Linked DNA regions of Homo sapiens: regions 1, 3, 4 and 5 are each linked to region 2. The links are contacts of gene promoters, found by promoter capture Hi-C in blood cells and fetal thymus (Javierre and others, 2016). All regions are on one chromosome and are shown on one strand. The core of a region is centred on a gene start or on the middle of the fragment in contact, and the rest is flanking DNA. Distances in the headings are between cores, read along the strand shown.

What was found. The method cuts DNA at HindIII sites, captures the fragments that hold promoters and counts their contacts. A CHiCAGO score of 5 or more calls a contact.
Region 1: a fragment that was not itself captured here is called in contact with the fragment with the promoter of PRSS36 in region 2 in 3 of 17 cell types (activated CD4 T cells, fetal thymus and endothelial precursors); the score reaches 7.0 in activated CD4 T cells.
Region 3: a contact is called between a fragment that was not itself captured here and the fragment with the promoter of PRSS36 in region 2, in 1 of 17 cell types (naive CD4 T cells). The highest score is 5.6, in naive CD4 T cells.
Region 4: a fragment that was not itself captured here is called in contact with the fragment with the promoter of PRSS36 in region 2 in 10 of 17 cell types (activated CD4 T cells, endothelial precursors, total CD4 T cells and 7 more); the score reaches 9.3 in activated CD4 T cells.
Region 5: a contact is called between the fragment with the promoter of ZNF267 here and the fragment with the promoter of PRSS36 in region 2, in 17 of 17 cell types (naive CD8 T cells, activated CD4 T cells, non-activated CD4 T cells and 14 more). The highest score is 34.9, in naive CD8 T cells.

What each region holds. Positions count from the first base shown.
Region 1 is chr16:31,697,124-31,700,942 of GRCh38, reverse strand. It overlaps the pseudogene CLUHP3. Among named protein-coding and RNA genes, the nearest start is that of KRABD5, 14 kb to the left of the region's middle. RefSeq lists silencers at 1-126, 387-526. The HindIII fragment of the contact is 5,761 bases long and covers 1-3,819 here.
Region 2 is chr16:31,147,546-31,151,498 of GRCh38, reverse strand. It overlaps PRSS36 (serine protease 36), which reads left to right and starts at 1,433. Exons shown (of 15, transcript NM_173502.5): 1 at 1,433-1,500; 2 at 1,768-1,803; 3 at 2,001-2,036; 4 at 2,264-2,426; 5 at 2,824-3,104. The coding sequence starts at 1,464. RefSeq lists enhancers at 1,189-1,725, 1,726-2,261, 2,262-2,799. The HindIII fragment of the contact is 9,446 bases long and covers 1-3,953 here.
Region 3 is chr16:31,926,423-31,930,385 of GRCh38, reverse strand. No RefSeq gene overlaps it. Among named protein-coding and RNA genes, the nearest start is that of ZNF267, 55 kb to the right of the region's middle. The HindIII fragment of the contact is 231 bases long and covers 2,477-2,707 here.
Region 4 is chr16:31,852,218-31,856,087 of GRCh38, reverse strand. No RefSeq gene overlaps it. Among named protein-coding and RNA genes, the nearest start is that of ZNF267, 20 kb to the left of the region's middle. The HindIII fragment of the contact is 1,077 bases long and covers 1,891-2,967 here.
Region 5 is chr16:31,871,611-31,875,287 of GRCh38, reverse strand. It overlaps ZNF267 (zinc finger protein 267), which reads right to left and starts at 1,481. Exons shown (of 4, transcript NM_003414.6): 1 at 1,319-1,481. The coding sequence starts at 1,321. RefSeq lists silencers at 1,200-1,279, 1,430-1,479 and an enhancer at 1,366-1,660. The HindIII fragment of the contact is 12,710 bases long and covers 1-3,677 here.

The sequences.
Region 1 (3,819 bases), core at 486-2,985, 550 kb before region 2:
GCGCGAAACTGCCCAGAGAGGGCTCAAGGCAGGACCAAGGTCGTCGCGCAGGGACGGGACGAGGCGCCCGGGGTCCCAGCTGCCGGCCGAGCCGCACCGTGTGACCGAGGAGACTCCGGGCCCCGACCCCGGAGCCGCCAGGGGCAGGCCCGGTTCCCAGCCGACCCCTGCCGCGTCTCGGGAAGCTCAGCCCCGCAGACTCACCATCTCGCGGCTTCAGGAGCGTCCCGGTATCCTCTCTAGGGACCGTCCAGTACCTGCAGGTCACAGGGCAAAGGAGGCTGCGGAATGAAGGAGAAAGAGCAGGGTACACAGATCAAGCAGGGAAGCGCACCTGGGAGAGGAAAAGGCCAGCCCAGAACACAGGAAGTGCGCCCCCTTTTTCGGCTGCGCGCCTGATTGGACAGGCTCGACAACGGCGCCGCTGAATGGATAGGGCTCCAGGTCCCGCCCCCTTACCCCCGAGTGACAGGAGATGCGATCACAGGTGTGGCTGAATGAGGCCTGAATGAATGATTGTCTGCAGCCCTTTTCAGGCAGGGCTGACTCCCTGTGCTGGGACCTGGGGCTGCTCCGGACATTGGTATTTAACTTTGCTCATAAGATTATATCAATTTATGAGTAATATAGGTAATATGTAAAATTGAAAATTATATAATAACGATTCTTTTAAAATTTCAGATTTCATAACCTTCATGGCCTCTGGTCCCTTGTGGAGGCAGCATGAGATTTGAAAATGGAGGGAGTCCTCTAAGTCAGAAATGTCCAATAGGAATAAAATTGAGCCGCATGTGTCATTTACAGTAGCCTAGTGGCATCATGAAAGGAAAACAGGTAAAATTGATGGTAATACCTTAACCCGATATATCCAAAATATTATCACTCAAATATGTGAGCAATATGAAATTATTAATGAAGACCACCAGAGAATGCTTCTTAAGTTTGGGGTACTAAATCTTGTAAAGTCACTCTGTATTTAAACTTCTAGCACATCTCAGTTCCAACCAGCTCTATCCAAAGAGCTCAGCAGCCCCACGTGGGCAGTGGCTTCCGCATTGAAGAGCAGATCTGAGGGCACTTGCGCGTCTAACCTCAGGGAAATCGAGGGCCTGGACCCCCTTTCCTGCCAGACGAGAGCGAACACCCTCATCCTGCCCATCTCTTTCCTCATGCCCAAGGGTGGGAGAGGCAGTGCCCAGTGAGAGAGCCAGGGCTGCAGTCAGGAGGTGTCCACAGGTCGACCACTGCTGCCCACCTGCTTCTGGGCAGGGCTCCCTCAGCCTTCCAAAGGTCAGACAGTGAATGAAGAGTGTCAGGCTTCAGGAGGAAACCCCTGACTTCAGATCTGTCTACAGCCTTGACCTCCAAAGTTTGGATGTGGAGGGAATAAAAGCAAATTTTTTTTATTTTGCAATTTGCCCTTGGCCCTGATGGTTAGGCTATGGCGGGCTGTTTCCTCCTATGGTGTGGGGACTGTGTGAGTTTAAGCACCAAGCATGTCAACATGCATTTCTGTATAATTTATCCCTATCCAACAAGAGGCCCCACTTTAAATAAAGGGAAAAGCAAATCAATACCTTATACAGTGCCTTCTGTTTGCCAGGTAACAACAAGTAGTGACCAACCTGTCATTTGAATCCTGGCAACCTGACTGCAGGTGTATGTATCAGTTAGCTATTGCTGCATTAAAAACCACCCTAAACCTTATTAGCTCATGATTGGGATGGTCAGTCATTTAGGCTGGACTCAACTGGGCCATTCTTCTGGTCTCAGCTGGGCTCCTTCAGGCGTGTGTGGTCAGCTGCTGGTTGACTAAGTGGCTCTGCTTCTGGGTGTCAGCTGGGGCACCTTGGTTTTCCTCCCCAGTGGGATCTCATCCTCCAGCAGGCTAACATGTGCTTGTTCTCATGGAGATGGCAGGGTTCTAAAAGAAAAAGCAGAAGCATTCAAGGCCTTATGTCCCTAGACCCCAAACTGTCACATTGCCATATTGATAGCTTTCTATTGCCCAGAGCAAATAAGGCCAGCCCAGATCCAAGCGTCAGGAAACAGATTCTGCCTCTATGTTGGAGCAGCTGTAAAAGCATATTCCAAAGGGCATGGACACCAGAGCCATTTTGCAGTCAGTATCATTCTGCCTTTTCTTACAGCAAGGTTTATATAACTGTTCCAAGTCAAGGAACATGTCCAAAGCACTACAGCTACTAAGTGGCTGGACTGGGACTCTGGATCAACTTTGCCTGACTCCAAAGCCCATGTACCTCCATAGACCTCACAACTCAAGCAGCTTCCCTAGGCCTTTGAGATCCTGAAGACTGACTCTTCTGCAATAGAATAAAGGTTCTTTTGAGATGCTCATCCTTCTAGTAGGATTATTCACAATTAGGAGTAATCCCCACCAGAGAATGCTTCTGAAATGTCTTGCAAACATTTAGATTAACTTGGGAAAATGGCTGATGGCTGAGTTTAAAAAATCAAGGCATAACTTTTTCATTTCTTACCATAGGAGAGATCTGAAAACACATATAATGCACGAACATGTGTGCAAATTATTTTCATCCCCGTGCGTTATTTGTAGTCTGATTATGATTTTTAACACAGACTAAATTAAACTACTGTTCCCGAAACAACGTTTTACTCTGAAAGCAAGAGACACAAAGGTAGATCTGCCGAGAAGACATTTCCTCCTGCCTCAATTTAGCCAAACAGCTGAGTACGTCTTAAAGTCAGCCTTCGATTTCTAACAAGTCAAGCTGTTTGCCAAGACCTCAATCAGATCATAAGAGTGCTTCAGCTACTTCATCATCCTAGAAGGTTGACCAGACAGATCGAAGCTCTGGGGGTGGAGTGGTGAGAGCACCCGCACTAGCAGGTGGGCAGCCATAGGTCCATAGATGAGAGTCATTCATTAGGTGGGGTGTTTTGGGGTCCTGACATTTATGACACAATTAATGTCTATATTACTAAATGTAAATTTTAAAACATTACAAATAATAAATCTACATATAAACTGAATATGTCAGCAATTACAATTATTGTTATTCATCATTATTCTAAGTGTGATCATTATTATTACCACAATTAGAAATAGTGGTTGTGATTGTTGTTGCTGCTGCTGCTGCTGTTGCTGCAGGGATGGTGATAAAAACACCGGGTAAGGCTCTGCTGCCTCCTCCACTTGTGGCATCGGGAGCTGCTGGCTCACTAGTTTGGTGCACACTCTGGACCTCTTTGGTGAAGCTGCAGCTGAAGAGCCTTCAGGCTCTGCTATGGCAGAGAAAGAGCCTGAGTCAAGGCCGAGAGCAGAATCCTGTGAATTTGAAAGTGGCAGGTAGGATGGTCCCGGGGTGCAGTTGATGGTGAAGAGGCACACACCACTTAGTGAATGAGTGGAAGCCTTTGGTGAAAGGCAGAGTTTGTCCATGACACAGATCAGATTCCACTTTGACTGGGGCCAATCAGTGAAACAGACACATCTGCAGAACTGGAAACAGAGGACAAAGATTCAGTTGATGTGTTCCAGAAGCAGACTGGAGTGTCTACTGAGAACACACTCACGGCTTTACCCCAGAACTCTGTTCCTACAGACATTCTCATGTGGAAAACTGCAATATGGTTCCACCACGTCTGATTGGTCCAGTATCCCCTTCTCTATTCTTCACTTTCTCCTTCCTTATTCCTTTACTGTACATAAATTATCAAGTGTAGCTGCACAAGCATATTGATGATTTTGTTTGCTTGCTTGTTTGATTGTACCGAATGGCCACCAGTTTGTGTTGAGTGATTGCCAATGGACACAAGGCGAGGGAAAACACTGAT
Region 2 (3,953 bases), core at 184-2,683:
TTTTTTTTTTTTTGTGAGACGGAGTTCGCTCTTGTCACCCAGGCTAGAGTGCAACGGCGCTATCTTGGCTCACTGCAACCTCCACGTCCTGGGTTCAAGCATTTTTATCTGCCTCAGCCTCCCTAATAGGTGGGATTACAGGTGAGTTCCACCACACTCGGCTAATTTTTGTATTTTTAGTATAGATGGGGCTTCTCCAAGTTAGCCAGGCTGGTCTTGAACTCCTGACCTCAGGTGATCTGCCCGCCTCGGCCTACCAAAGTGCTGGGATTACAGCCGTGAGCCACCCAGCCTCTTTGGTTTCCTTTGACCCTGCCTACACTTCTATAAATAGTTTCTTCCTTAAACTCTCTTCAACTCCTCTTTGAAGAGCCATATGTTTCTTTCTTCTTCTTATTCTTCTTTTTTTTTTTCTTTTTGTTGTTGTTGTTGAGACAGGGTCTCGCTTTGTCACCCAGGCTGGAGTGCAGTGGCACAATCATAGCTCACTGCAACCTCGACCTCCCAGGCTCAAGCAATCCTCCCACCTCATCTCCCGAGTAGCTGGGATACAGACGTGCACCACCACGCCCTGCAGTTCATAATTTTTGTATTTTTTAATTTTTTGTAGAGATGGGGTCTTGCTATGTTGACCAGGCTGGTCTTGAACTCCTAGCCTCAAGCAATCCTCCCACCTCAGTCTCCCAGAGTGTTAGGATCACAGGAGTGAGCCACCGTGCTCGGCCAAGTCATATGTCCCTTAAACTGGCTCTTACTGATACACACCAAGAGGTTGGGTTACTTTCCCAAAGTCACACAGAGTAAGTGACAGGGCAGCTAAGAGCATTGTCACTGGAACACAGAGCAGGGTGGAGGCTTTTTCAGCCTCGCCAGCCTGCCCAGCCCCCTCCCAGGGTCCCTATGCCCTGCCCAACCTGCTGGAATCTGTGATCCTTTTGTTGGGATGGGATTGAATTCCCTAGGGCTCCTGTCCCAGACCTGGCCAGCAGCTCCAGTAACCAGAGCTGTGTGAGAAGAAAAGGCCAAGCCACTGGGGCAGCCGCACCCCAAACAGAGGTGAGGTCTCCGATGAGTCATGCCCGTGAGGGGCCACTTCCCCTGTCCTAAGGGCCACTGCTCACCAAGGACACAGAACACTGTCCTCCTCTTTGACCTTTGCCTGCAGTGTTTTTCATCCCTCCCTCTCCCACCCAACAGGTGTCCAGGAGCTAGGACACCTGTCCTCCACCCCCACCCTGGGCCTCCAGAGACATGAGATGTGCGCAGGGCTCTGGGTGGGGCCTTCAGGCTCCCCAGCTTCCCCCTTCCAGCCCCAGATCCTCTCAGATTCCCAGAGATGGGCTCCAGCCAGGGAGGGTGGGGCTGCCCCTGGGACCATCAGGAGTCACGGGCTGCCTGGGCAGTGACAGAGCCCTGCAGGGAGCAGACCTTCACTTGGCTCTGCCTCCGCTGACTCTAGCGCCATGGCCCGGCACCTGCTCCTCCCCCTTGTGATGCTTGGTAACCTCAGGGGACAAGAGTGGCTGCAAAGGGCCTGGGTCCTGGCATCTGGGGGGCTGGAGAGCAGGATTCCTGGTTTCTGTGTGGGGAGCAGGAAGTCAGAGAGAAGGAAGTGAGGCAGCAGAAGGCGAGGATGTATCAGAGGAGGGAGAGGGAGGCCTGGGTGCCCTGGGGAGACGGAGGCTAGGAGGCTGGGGGAGGGAGTCAGGGAGGGCACATACTGAGTGCGAGTCGCCAGCCTCTTCCTGCCTACCTCTGTCTTTCCAGTCATCAGTCCCATCCCAGGAGCCTTCCAGGACTCAGGTAAGGTAGCCGGACTGGGGGAAAGTCACGTGCAGAGGCAGAAAAGACCAGAGGACTGGCATGGGTGCTGGCAGGGGTTGCTGAACGGACAGGGAAGTGGGAAGATAGGGTCGGGGGTTGGAGAGCAGGAAGTGGGGCTGGGCGGTGCAGGCCTGGAAGTCACAAGTGTCCTCCTCTCTTTCCCCTCTGGCTCCCAGCTCTCAGTCCTACCCAGGAAGAACCTGAAGATCTGGGTAAGGAAGAGGCCTTGGCACCCTCAGACCTTAAAGGAGGCTAAGGCTGGTCAGGCCATGAGGGAGGTGGAAAAGACCAGAAATGTAGACAAGCCTGGGTCCTCTATGTTCTTTGTTCAGAGGGGCAAACTGAAGTGGGTGGAGGACGGGCCTTCGTCCTGAGTTACCTGGGCTTCTGGAGTGGGGAACCCGAGGGGAGCTTTGGCTTCCACGGCTCCCCGTTGCAGACTGCGGGCGCCCTGAGCCCTCGGCCCGCATCGTGGGGGGCTCAAACGCGCAGCCGGGCACCTGGCCTTGGCAAGTGAGCCTGCACCATGGAGGTGGCCACATCTGCGGGGGCTCCCTCATCGCCCCCTCCTGGGTCCTCTCCGCTGCTCACTGTTTCATGACGTGAGTATTCGCCCTGGTCCTGGCCCCTCTCCGCCAAAAGCTGGCCCCCGCCCCCGCAGTTGGTCCCCTCCTCCCGCCCCACTTCCGTCCTCAAGGATAATTTGGAGCCAAGCTGTCCCCAAAGCGAGGTGCTATTCGAGGCATCATGGTTCCGAGTGGGGCAAGGCTGCCGGACTGGTCCCACCACTCCACTCAATATCCGGGTCTGAATCCCATCTTTCCAATGACCCCCCCACCACCAGCTCCAAATCGGATTTGCTCTTCCCCTTTGAGGAGTATCAGCACCAAATCTGGATCGGATAGCACCTGCCCCTCTGGCTCTGAGCCCCTGCCCCCAACGAGGGTCTGCCCCCTCCATAGGGTCAACCTAACCTCCTACTGCCCCGGTCGAGCGCAGGAATGGGACGCTGGAGCCCGCGGCCGAGTGGTCGGTACTGCTGGGCGTGCACTCCCAGGACGGGCCCCTGGACGGCGCGCACACCCGCGCAGTGGCCGCCATCGTGGTGCCGGCCAACTACAGCCAAGTGGAGCTGGGCGCCGACCTGGCCCTGCTGCGCCTGGCCTCACCCGCCAGCCTGGGCCCCGCCGTGTGGCCTGTCTGCCTGCCCCGCGCCTCACACCGCTTCGTGCACGGCACCGCCTGCTGGGCCACCGGCTGGGGAGACGTCCAGGAGGCAGGTGAGTGGGACGGGACAAGAGGGGAGGGCCTCGGGGAGGTGGGGCTTCGAGAGGTGAGGTTCCTAGGGCGGGGCCTCAGGAGGTGGGGCCACGGAGCGGAGCCTGCGGGGAGCGTTGGAGGGTAGGTTTCTGCGGGTCGGTGGATGAATCCCACACCGATCTCCATGTAGCCTTCTCCCTGCAAGGATTCTCAAACTAAGACCACGGAATCACCCACACGCACCCCATTCCCTCCTTACCTGTCCTTCCAGTTTTTTCTTTCCTGGGTTTAGGCTCCGACTAGGGTTCCCATCCCAGCTCTAACATGTCAGACAAAGCACTTCACCCAGTACATTTCCTCATCTGTAACACGAGGAAAATAGCCATACCCACTTCAAGGGGTGGTTGAGTGGATTAAATGAGAAAATCCATGTAAAGTTCATAGTACAGTGCCTGGCATAGCAATAACCAATGCACTTTACATATTTCACCTCAGGTAATCTATAGTAAAGCACTACAGCATAAGGCTGGCCTATAATAGATATTCAGCAAATGCCAGTCTGTGCCTCCCTCCCATCCGCCTTCCTCTCATTCCATCCACCCCCACTCATCTCTCTACTCCCCACCTCCTCTCTTCTTCCTACCCACCATCATTCATTCAATCATTCTTTCACTCAAGATATTTCTTGAGCACCTTCTACATGCCAGGCACCGTGTTAGGCATTAGAGAGACACCAGTGAACATAAAAAGCCAAAATCCTGCCTTTTCAGAGTTTACATCCTAGGAGATAGACAAGCAACAAATTCAATAAATAAGCACGCATTATGTTAGAAGGTGGGGGGGAATAGACCAAATCTCCATCCCCATCA
Region 3 (3,963 bases), core at 1,343-3,842, 780 kb before region 2:
TGTTGTGAACAGAATTGCATTCTTGATTTCGCTGTCAGTTTGGATGTTGTTGGTGTAGGGGAATGCTACTGATTTTTGTCCATTGATTCTTGTATCCTGAGATTTGCTGAAGTTTATCAGATCTAGAAATTTTGGAGCAGAGACTATGGGGTTTCCTAGGTATATAATTATATTGTCTGCAAACAGTTATAGTTTGACTTCCTCTCTTCCTATTTGGATGCCTTTTATTTCTTTCTCATGGCTGATTTCTGTGACTATGACTTCCGGTATCATGTTGAATAGAAGTGATAAGAGAGGGTATCCCTGTCTTGTTCTGTTTCTCTAGGGGAATGCCTCTAGCTTTCACTCATTTAGGATGATGTTGGCTGTGAGTTTTTCATAGAAGAGTTTTATTATTTAGTGGTATGTTTCTTCAATGCCTAGTTTGTTTAGAGTTTTTAACATTAAGGAGCGTTGAATCCTTTCAAAAGTTTTTTTCTGCATCTACTGAGATGATCATGTAGTTTTTGGTTTGGGTTCTGTTTATGTGGTGAATCACTTTTTTTGATTTGTGTATGCTGAACCAACCTTGCATCCCAAGGATGAAGCCTACTCGATCATGGTGAATTAGCTTTTTGATGTGCTGCTAAATTCTGTTTATTAGTATTTTGTTGAAGATATTTCTATCTATGTTCATCAGGAATATTGGCCTGAAGTTTTCTTTCTTTGCTGTATCTCTGCCAGGTTTTGATATGATAATAATGTTGGCCTCACAGAATGAGTTAGAGAAGAGTCCTTTATCTTCAATTTTTAAAAATAATTTCAGTAGGAATGGTACCAGCTCTTCTTTACACATCTAATAAAATTTTGCTGTGAATCCATCTGGTCCTGGGATTTTTTTGGTGGGTAGGTATTTTCTTACTGATTCAATTTTGGAACACATTATTGGTCTGTTCAGGGATTCACTTTCTTCCCAGTTCAGTCTTGGGAGGTTGTATGTTTCCAGGAATGTATCTACTTCTTCTAGGTTTTCTAGCTTTTATGTACATAAGTTTGTAGTTGTCTCTTAGGGTATTTTGTATTTATGCAGCATCAGTGGTAATGTCCCATTTTTTTCTGATTGTTTATTTGAACCTTTTCTCTTTTTTATTTAATCTTCTAGCTAGTAGTCAATCTATCTTATTAATTCTTTCGAATAACCAACTTCTGAATTTATTGATCTATTATATGGGTTTTTTTAAATCTCAGTTTCCTTCAGTTCAGATCTGATTTTGGTTATTTCTTGTCTTCTGCTGGCTTTGGGGTTGGTTTGTTCTTGTTTCTCTAGTTCCTCCAGTTGTGATGTTAGGTTGTCAATTTCAGATGTAACTTTTTGATGTGGGTGTTTAGTGTATAAGTTTCTCTCTTAACCCTACTTTAGTGTTCCAGAGATTCTGGTATGTTGTATCTTTATTAGTTTCAAAGAATTTCATAATTTCTGCTTTAATTTCATTGTTTACCCAAAAGTCATTCAGGAACATGTTGTTTAATTTCCAAGTAATTGTATGGTTTTGATCAATTTTCTTAGTATTAATTTGTATTTTTCTTTCTCTCTGGTCTGTGACTGTGGTTGGTATGATTTTTTAAAAATCTGCTGAGGATTATTTTATATCTAATTGTGCAGTCAGTCTTAGAGTGTGTGTGCCATGTGCAGATGAGAAGAATGTGTATTCTGGTGTTTGGGGGTGGAGAGTTCTGTAGATCTCTATTAGGTTCATTTGGTCAAGTGTCGAGTTCAGGTCCTGAATACCTTTGTTAGTTTTCTGCCTCAATGATCTGTCTAATAACTCTGAATTCGTTGTTGAAGTCTCCCACTATTACTGTGTGGTTATCTAAGTTTCTTCACAGGTCTGTAAGAATTTGCTTCATGAACCTGGGTGCTCCTGTGATGCATGAATATATATTTAGGATAGTTAGGTCTTTTTGTTTAATTGAGTTCTTTGCCATTACGTAATGTCCTTCTTTGTCTTTTTTGATCTTTGTTAGTTTGAAGTCTATTTTGTCTGGAATTAAATAGCAACCCCAGGCTTTTTGTTTGTTTGTTTGCTTGGTAGATTTTTCTTCATCCCTTTTCTTTGAGCCTACAGGTATCATTGCATGTGAGATGTTTCCCTCAAAGACAGCATACCATTGGGTCTTGCTTCTTTGTCTAACTTGTTACTCTATGCCTTTTAATTGGGGCATTTAGCTCACTTACATTCAAGGTTAATATTGATATGTGCAGACTTCATCCTGTTATGTTGTTAGTTGGCTACTATGCAGACTTGTTTGTGTGGTTGCTTTATAGTGTCACTGGTCTATGTATTCAAATGTGTTTTTATAATGGCTGATAACAGTCTTTTATTTCCATATGTAGCACTCCCTTCAGGAACTCTTGTAAGGCAGGTCTGGTGGTAACAAATTTCATTAGTATTTGCTTGCCTGAAAAGGATCTTATTTCTCCTTCACTTATGAAGCTTAATTTGGCTGGATATAAAATTATTAGTCAGAAATTATTTTCTTTAAGAATGCTGAATATAGGTTCCCATTCTCTTCTGTCGTCATTTTGATATTTGACATGACACTAGTCTGGTAATTTAATTTGTGTTGTAATTCAGGTACTCACAGGATGAGATTCTGCATTTGGTTTTCAGCAATCTTGGCCTTGTGGTTACTGGAGATAAGCATCTTCATGGCAGACATAGAAGCTTTAAGGTCATGAACGTGGAATTTGGCATACACATTTTTTTTTCTGAGCTCATTCTTTTCTTTCCCCACTTTGTCCACGGACATTACAAACAACCAGTCAATATTCATATATTTTTATTTTGACAAAAATGTTTCAAAGTATTATAGGCATGGTTGTCCAGGTTCTTGATTCTAAAAATGCTTCATTAGGGGTATTCAATGGCAATATTCTGCACCTTTTTTGCCATGTCATGACATGCACTATCAATGCTCTTATTACTACTGGAAATAATTAATAGTGTCTGAATTTAATCAAATTATTGAGCCCAATACAGAAACTTCAGAACCAAAAAATAAGATTTATCCAGGTCATTCCTATAAAACCACTCTTAGTACCAAAATCTGTATTAGCCAAGATTCTTTAGAGAAATAGAGCCAATGGTATATTGTATAAATTATCTCAAGTTTTCATAACAAGTACCACAAACTGGATGGACTAAACAGCATACAATTATTTTTCTACAATTCTGGATGCTTTAAGTCCAAGATCAAGGTCCTATTATGCAGGGTTGGTTTCCAGTAACTCGTCTCTTCCTGGCTTATTGGAGGCTCCCTTCTGTGTTCTCATATAGCTTTCCTCTCTGTGTGTGGAGAAAGAGCTTTCTGGTGTCCCTTCCTCTTCTTATAAAGATACCATTCCTACCAGAATAAGGGCTCTCCCTTATGAATTCATTTAACCTTAATATATGTAGTGTATAATTCAATACTTATAATACATATTATATACTATATGATAACATGCACACATGCACACACGTGTGTATGTTTGTGTATGATAATATAGTATATAATATACATATACATGTATGTGTGTGTATATATATATGTACACACACAGGCTCATTTGATTATGGAGACTGGCAAGTCCAAATCTGCAATGTGGGCTGAGAAGATTAAGACTGAGATCTGAGAGGGCAATTCCAGTTTTAATTTTGAGGAAAATTTGACATAGTTAATGGTGCAGATAAAGTACAAAAGCGATCTAATGGAGATATTTCTCTTGCTCAGGAAGGCTGGCTTTTTTGTTTTATTTAAACCTTCAAATGATTGGATGAGGCCTAACCCGCAGTATGTAGGACAATCTGCTTACTCAAAGATTACAAATTTAAATGGTAATGTCATCAAAAAGAAAGAGCCCTCCATATTGATATAAGATTAACCCACAGAACCCTAATTTTAATGCCTGAAAATCAGGGGAGAGGGTGTCAGTCATTTGCT
Region 4 (3,870 bases), core at 1,180-3,679, 700 kb before region 2:
GGAGCATGTCATTTAATTTTCATGTATTTGTACAGTTTTCAAAGTTCCTTTTGCTACTGATTTTTGGCTTTATTTCACTGTAGTATGAGAAAATACTTGATATGATTTCAATTTTTAAACATTTGTTAAGACTCGTTTTCTGGCCTAACAGAGGGTCTATCCTGAAGACTGTTCCATGTGCTTCTGAGAAGAATGTATGTTTTGCAGTCATTGGATCAAGTGTTCTGCAGATGTCTGTTAGGTTCCTTTGGTCTAAAGCAACGGTGCCTAACCTTTTTGGCACCAGGAACTGGTTTCGTGGAAGACAATTTTTCCTAGGACTAGGGGAGGGGGATGATTTCAGGATAATTTAAGTGCATTACATTTATCATTAGATTCTCATAAGGAGCATACAGCCTGGATCACTGGCATGTGCAGTTCACAATAGGGTTTGAGCTCCTATGACAATCTAATGCTGCTGCTGATCTGACAGGAGGTAGAGCTCAGCTTCACTGGCTCACCTGCCACTCACCTCCTGCTGAGCTTCCTGGTTCCTAACAAGCCAGGGGTGGGTATTGGTCTGTGACCCGACGGTTGGGGACCCCTGGTCTAAAGTACAGTTTAAATCTGATGTTTCATTATTGATTTTCTGTCTAGGTAATCTTCCAGGGCTTGTCTAGTGGTGATGAATTTCTTCAGTTTTTGCTTGTCTGGGAACGTCTTTATTTCTCCTTCATTATGAGGTATAACCTTGCTTAGGCTGTGTTTGCTAGTTGAGGCTGTGGTGAGGTTTTGGTAGGAATGGAACACCAGATAGGCCAGTCCTTCAGCCCCCATGGTGACAGTGGCAGCAGTAAAGGGTTGAGGGTGTCTGTCCTTGGGCTGCTGGGTAGTGTATGTGGGCACTGGTGTTAGTGTGCCTAAGCCTGTTGATTCTCAGGCCTTCAGGAGGCTTGCTCTGATGTCTGTAGTAACAGCAGTGGGCTAGGAAATGGGGCAAGTCCTCAGGCCTCTGAGCAGTGTGTACCGTGTGGATGAGGAGAGTAGTGGGGTTGAGGCAACTTCAGGCTTCCAGGCAGCACTCACAGTGTTTGTGGTGGCTGCAATGGGCTGAATCAGACAGTCCCTAGAGCCTTAGGTGACACATGAGTGTGGATGCTGGTGGTTGTCTGGGTGGGCCCATCCTTAGGACCCCAAGAGTACCCAGATGACAGCAGTGGTGGATGGCATGGGAGATTCCTAGACCTTTAGACAGCATGCTTGAGTGCTGGCTGCACATTTTCTTGGCCTGTTTTTAGGACCCTGGTGGACTCATGCCAGAGGCTACCACCTGTACAATGCTGTCCTCAGGTCCACAAGTGGAATATTTGACCACTAAGGGTGGGAGAGAGGCAGGTGAGGTGGGCCTGTTCTCAAGTCCTCCTAGTGATGCACATGAGCATAGGCTGTGGGCAGGGCAGGGGAAGTCCCAGACCTCTGGAGCTCATGCTAGGGCACCAGTGATGGCAGGCCTTCTGGAGCTGTTATTAGGCCCCTGGGAGATGGGTGCACCAAAATCTCAGAAATCGCCACTAAAGAATTTATTCATGTGCAAATAAATAAATAAATAAATAAATTCACTTACACTGTCTTATAATTATGTAATTAGTTTTGCTAGTGTGTGCTTTGTCTTTCTTATGCATTCAAATTATTGTCTGGATTTACTTGCTTTCAGCCTGAAAAACTTCTTTTGCCATTTTTTCATAAGGTCAGTTGGCTAGCAACAAATTGTATCAGTTTTTATTTACATAAAATGTTTTTATTTAACCTTCATTTTTAATAGCTAGTTTTTGTGGGTATAGGGTTCTTATTAGGCAGGCTTTTTCTGTGAGCATCAGACAAAATAATTTATAAAGAAGTAATTGAAAAGCTTCAGAGAAGGAAAATAAATCAAGACCTAAGGACACTGACTGGATTGAGCACCAACGTCATAGTGATGGCAGCTGGGTTTAAGATGACAGGGAGAATTGTCACTGAAGACAGTAGAAGTCTGGGGATCAAGTGGTCCTGACTGCAGCTGAATGGAAAGTTTATTTTGTATTTTATTTTATTTTAATTTTTGAGACAGAATCTCGCTCTGTTGCCCAGCCTAGAGTGCAGTGGCCCGATCTCAGCTCACTGCAACCTCTGCCTCCTGGGTTTGAGTGATTCTTCTGCCTCAGCTTCCTGAATAGCTGGGATTCCAGGTGCCTGCCATGATGCCTGGCTAATTTCCGTGTTTTTAGTAGAGACGGGGTTTCACCGTATTGGCCAGCTGGTCTCAAACTCCTGACCTGAAGTGATCCGCCTGCCTTGGCCTCCCAAAGGGCTGGGATTGCAGGCATGAGCCACCGTGCCCGGCCTGGAGAGTTTATTTGTTAGAGCCTCAGATATGGCACATGAGAGGTACACCAGCATGAACTCAAACATATTCAGAACTGGTGCCTTGGGGGAAAATCTATAGATTAAGTGCATGAGAAGTCACCACTTCAGTATCAGATGATGTTTGATTAAGAAAGTGTAACTCCAAATGTGGCAATCATGATCAAGGTTAAAGTTAGCACTAGTTATAACATAGGTGTGGTTGGTGGTGTCTCAGAAGCAAATAAAAGTTGTCAGTTGCTAAGAATGTGTTAATCATTTTATTCCACATGCTCTCATGCTGACTGTGTAGTTAAACATCCCTGTAAGTAGAAACAACTTCACTGTAAGCGCTATGTAAGCCTGGTGCAGGGGGCATTTTCTTCATTCCCAAAAAAGTTTTACATAGACTACCTGTAATATTGAAACGTAGGGACAACTGGGGACCATGTGTGAAGGCCCCCAGAAATTTCTTCAGTTAGCAAGGATGTTTGGTAAAGCAACACAGAAATTAAACAAAGTTTGAAACTATAGTTATTGCTTCTACTTTATTGGCAATAACTGAGACCAGACAACCCTCCTGGGCAAAATTACCTAAGAAAACAAGCTTGCACACGTTAAAGTTTGAAACCCATCTGTCCTACACTGATCTTTTCCAGGAATTAAATGTGTTCAGTTTTTCCTTTTGTTGCTCCCCTTTCCAATAATCTCGAGGCCAGGGCTGTCCTGCTTCTACAGGTGACATGACAGTTATGGGCCTGGAGGGAGACGAGCTGACAGTATCCCTTCTTTATAACCAAGTCTCAGGGACCACCATCCACACACACAGACTCACTCCAGGACTCCGCTGGGCAAATGGATGTTTCTCAGCTTTAGTAAAAGTGAGTGATCACGACTTACGTTGGTAGTGGCAGGAGGATTTTCTCAATGATGTAGATAACTCTCTCATAATTTTGTTCTTGTGTCTCACTGAATTATAACTATTTTCAGATAAAAATATAAATTTTAATATCATGAGCACATAAATTTACAGATGTTCGAAAGGATATTTGTAATTTTGTAATGGTATATGTTATAGGTAAGACGTTTATTTAGAAACAGAATGCTTGTTTTTCGGTCATGTAAGGAAAAATTAGCATTTAGACAAAAAGGTTTTTTTAGCAAGGAAATTTTACTTTCTGCAGAAAGGGTGCTCCTTGCAGATGGAACAATGGCAAGAGCACATTTGAACAAGGGAGGGAAGCAATTTTTATTTTTTATGTAGCTTGTCCCTGCTCTTGTGTCCTGTTTTTATTGGCTGGAGACAGACTTCATAATTTAAATTAAAACCTGATTGGCTAATAACTTAAAATTTTTTAAACAGGTAAAAGCAATGGAAAGATAAATGAAAAGAGGAAGTTGTTTATGAAAGGACTTAGAAAAGTAATAACATTCCTAAATAAGGAAGTGACAGGCTGTGAGCTGGGACATGCCTGTGAGCACATCCAGGACAGGTATTTCCGTTAAGGCACA
Region 5 (3,677 bases), core at 232-2,731, 720 kb before region 2:
AACAGGAGGTGACCTGGGGCTGACAGTCACTAAACACTCCAGGAGACATGGCCACTGTGGGCATCTTGAGTCATCCCAGACAGTTCTGAAATTCAGGAACAGGAAAAGACTGGATAGAGGGTGGCTATACAGGGCCCTGTAAAGTTTCCAAAGCAAAACCTCAAGTCAAAAGACATTCTTTCCGATAACGTGTCTGTGCCTGGGGAAGATGAATGAAAAAGAGGCACAGTTTTTTTTGCAGTGGAGTGTCAGGGATTTTTTATTCTCTGCTTTCCTCTCACGTGAAATGTATGCCAAAAAAACACAAATCTTTAAAAAAGTGTCATCCACTGCTCTGTGAAATCATGATTAATGAGTAAAATACTGTCTGAAATGTACAATAAATGACCAATAGTTAAGAATGTGAACTGGAGAGGGGAAGTTGGCCTTTGGAAATGTCGGGAAGGAACTGGAAATTTAATATTTTATTGCAAGCCCAGTTAGACTGGGGGAACACAGTGGTGGACTTGAGACTCTGCGTGCTACACGTTAGGAAAGCGCAGGGGGAAAACCAGTTCCCCTGGGCAGTGTTAAGATGATTAATGAGCAGGCGATTATACGGAAGTGGTTATAGTGCCCCAGGTTTCTAGGGAGAAAAACCAAAACCAAACTCAAATGCTTTTCTTGTAAATTACAACTTTAGGGGAAAACAAAATTCAGACTTAACGAACCACAAAGCTCCAATTCACCTCCACCTGCATAGTCTAAATAAGGCAACTACAAACTGTAACCCATCGGTTAATTTGGTCTGCTTCCTCATGCACCTTATAAAAACCTTTCCTTCAAGCCCCTCTGGGGATCTCCGAACCACAAACCAGGACTGCAGGCTTCCCATGTCACAAATCGCTATTTGCTCAAATTCTTCAACGTTTTAACAGTGACTCCCTTTAATTCTTAAGAGGAGTAGTGACTGAGGACCCCACAGGGCACGGTTTCTTCCCACACACCGAACCTGGGTCTCCCCTGAGACGCTCCCGTCCTCACCGCACAATCTGGGGGAGACGCGGGGCTGCGACGCGGAGCTGCCCAGAGAGGGCTCCGGCCAGGGACGAGGTCGCTCTGCGGGGTCGGGATGGGACAGGACACGCGGGGTCCCGGCTGCCGGCCTGGCCGCCATCTTGCAGCGGAGGGGACCGAGGGCCGAGCTGCACCAGTTGGGACTCGGGGCCCAGACCCCGAGGCTGACTGCGGGGAGGCCCGGGTGCCCCTACAGCGGGTTCCCGCCGCTTCCGACCACCGCCCTCCCTCCCTCTGGGGACCCCCGACCCCGCACACTCACCATTTCCCAGCTTCCGGGATGCCCTGGCGTCTTAGCTACGAATCTCCCAGTGCCTGCAAGTCGCAGAGCAACAGAGGTTCTGTTTATTCTCAGAACGCGAAGCCGCCTGGGCCTCCCAGAACGAAAGACTCGGAGCTGTGGCGAGGAGACCCGAGCTCTAACTGGAGCCGACGAAGGCCCCCGCCAAATCCCGGAAGCCGCCCCTGCTCTCCGGCTTCACTCCTGATTGGACGGTTTCCACTCCAGCGCCCCTGATTGGATAAAGCTCCATGCCCCGCCCCCTCATTATTAGTGCCTTTTTTTTTTTTTTTTTTGAAAGGGAGACTGGCTCATTGAGGTGGGGCCGCCTGCTGCGGGTATTACAGCTAATTAAGGGGTGAGCTGCGACTTGAAATACACTTGCTCTTTCCCTTACCTGGTTCTGCTTGTATAAGACATCTTATTAGCTAATTAAGTTTAAGAAGAAGTATATTTAGACACCTTTAAAGCAAGAAAGACCCTCATCCCGTCCCTTAGCACCTCTCTTACCGCACTGTACCCCACTGCTAACGCCACCGTGGGAGGGGGCCCCTCAGCTGGGAACAGAAGGCCGTACACTTCATTCACGTGTTTTCAATTAGGCCCTCGCATGATACATAGACTGAACCAGTGCAAAAGCATCTTATAGGGGCATGCAGGCTGGGGTCCCAGGAGGATGTTGCGGGCCGTGGTGGAACGTGGAAGAGGGGCTGGCCTATTCTTCTAATCTACAACTCTGCCCGCATCTCCTGGAGTCTGCATCACTGGTAACGGGGCCGCTGACTGTCCGTCTGTCTCTCCTTCTCAATCCCTTCAAGCTCAGGGAAGAAGGGTCCTTGGCAGCGACAGGGCTGGGAGCTCAGTTCCTCTGGGCCGTGCTGGCTCAGGCTCTGTGGCCACGGACTCCTCAGCCCTACCTCTGGTTTTTGCTTTTGTTTTGAGACAGGGTCTCACTCTATTGCCCAGGCTGGTGCAGTGGTGCAGTCATGGCTCACTGCAGCCTCCGGGGCTCAAGCAATCTTCCCACCTCAGCCTCCTGAGTAGCTGGGACTACAGGCACATGCCACCATGCCCGGCTGATTTTTGTATTTTTTGTAGAGATGAGGTTTCACCATGTTGCCCAGGCTGGTCTCCATCTCCTGAGCTCAAGCGATCCTCCCACCTTAGCCTCCCAAGTAACTGGGGCTACAGGTTAATAGTCAGTTCGCCAACTCCTGAGCTCAAGTATTCTGTCTGCTTTGACCTGCCAGAATGCCCTATTCCTGTTTTTCTGGAGTCTTGGAGCTAGTGGCGCTGCAGCACCTCGTAGTCTTCCGGCTGAGTAGATTCTCCTAGTCTTCTGGCTGAGTAGAAGGTGGGAGAGGAGGTGGGTGTCAAACTGGGCCAGGGCCCTCGGCCGCCATCTAGCTTGGTTAAACTCCCACTTGGGACAGATCAGGCTCTGTGCCTTATTCAGTGAGACGTGTGGAACAAATGCTTCCCTCCCCAAAGCAGAAACATCCCTGATTGCTGACAGTCAGGATTCCATGCACTTGTCTTGGCCTGGGGCATGGCTGCCTCTCACCCTCTCACCCAGTTCTAGTCGCTGCACTCTGTGGCCTCCCTGCCACCAGATTAGGTGTAGACAACGGGTGTGGGACAGGGCTGCTGACACCACTGGCTGACCAAACCCCTTTCCCACACTGAAGGGAGAAAAGACAGGAGGTTAGGGGCTCCCAAAGGCAGCACTGCTTGTGACAGCACCACGGGAGTCCTTAGGGCCTACTAAGGGGCTGGGCTGGAACTCAGGATCAACTCTGCCTGACTCCAAAGCCCATGCACCTCCATGGACCTCACAACTCAAGCAGCTTCCCTAGGCCTTTGAAATCCTGGAGATTGACTCTTTTGCGATAGAAGAAAGATTCCTTTTGATTCTCATCCTTCTAGTACTCTTCACAATTGGAAATAATCCCCACCAGAGAATGCTTCTGAAATGTCTTGGAAACATGTAGAATAATTTGGGAAAATGGCTGAAGGCTGAGTTTAAGAAATCAAGGCCTAACATTCTATTTTTCATTTCTTATAGGAGAGATTTGAAAGCACTTATAATGGACTCAATGTGTCTGCAAATTATTTTTGTCCCCTTTCAGTATTTGTAAGCTGTTGATGATTTTCAATACAGATTAACTCAAACTACTGTGACTGAAACAATCTTTTACTCTGAAAGCAAGAGATACAAAGGTATATCTGCTGAGAAGACATTTTTTTCTGCCACAATTTAGCCAAACAGCTGAGTACGTCTTAAAGTCAGCCTTTGATTTCTAACAAGTCAAGCTATTTGCCAAGACCACAGTCAGACCAT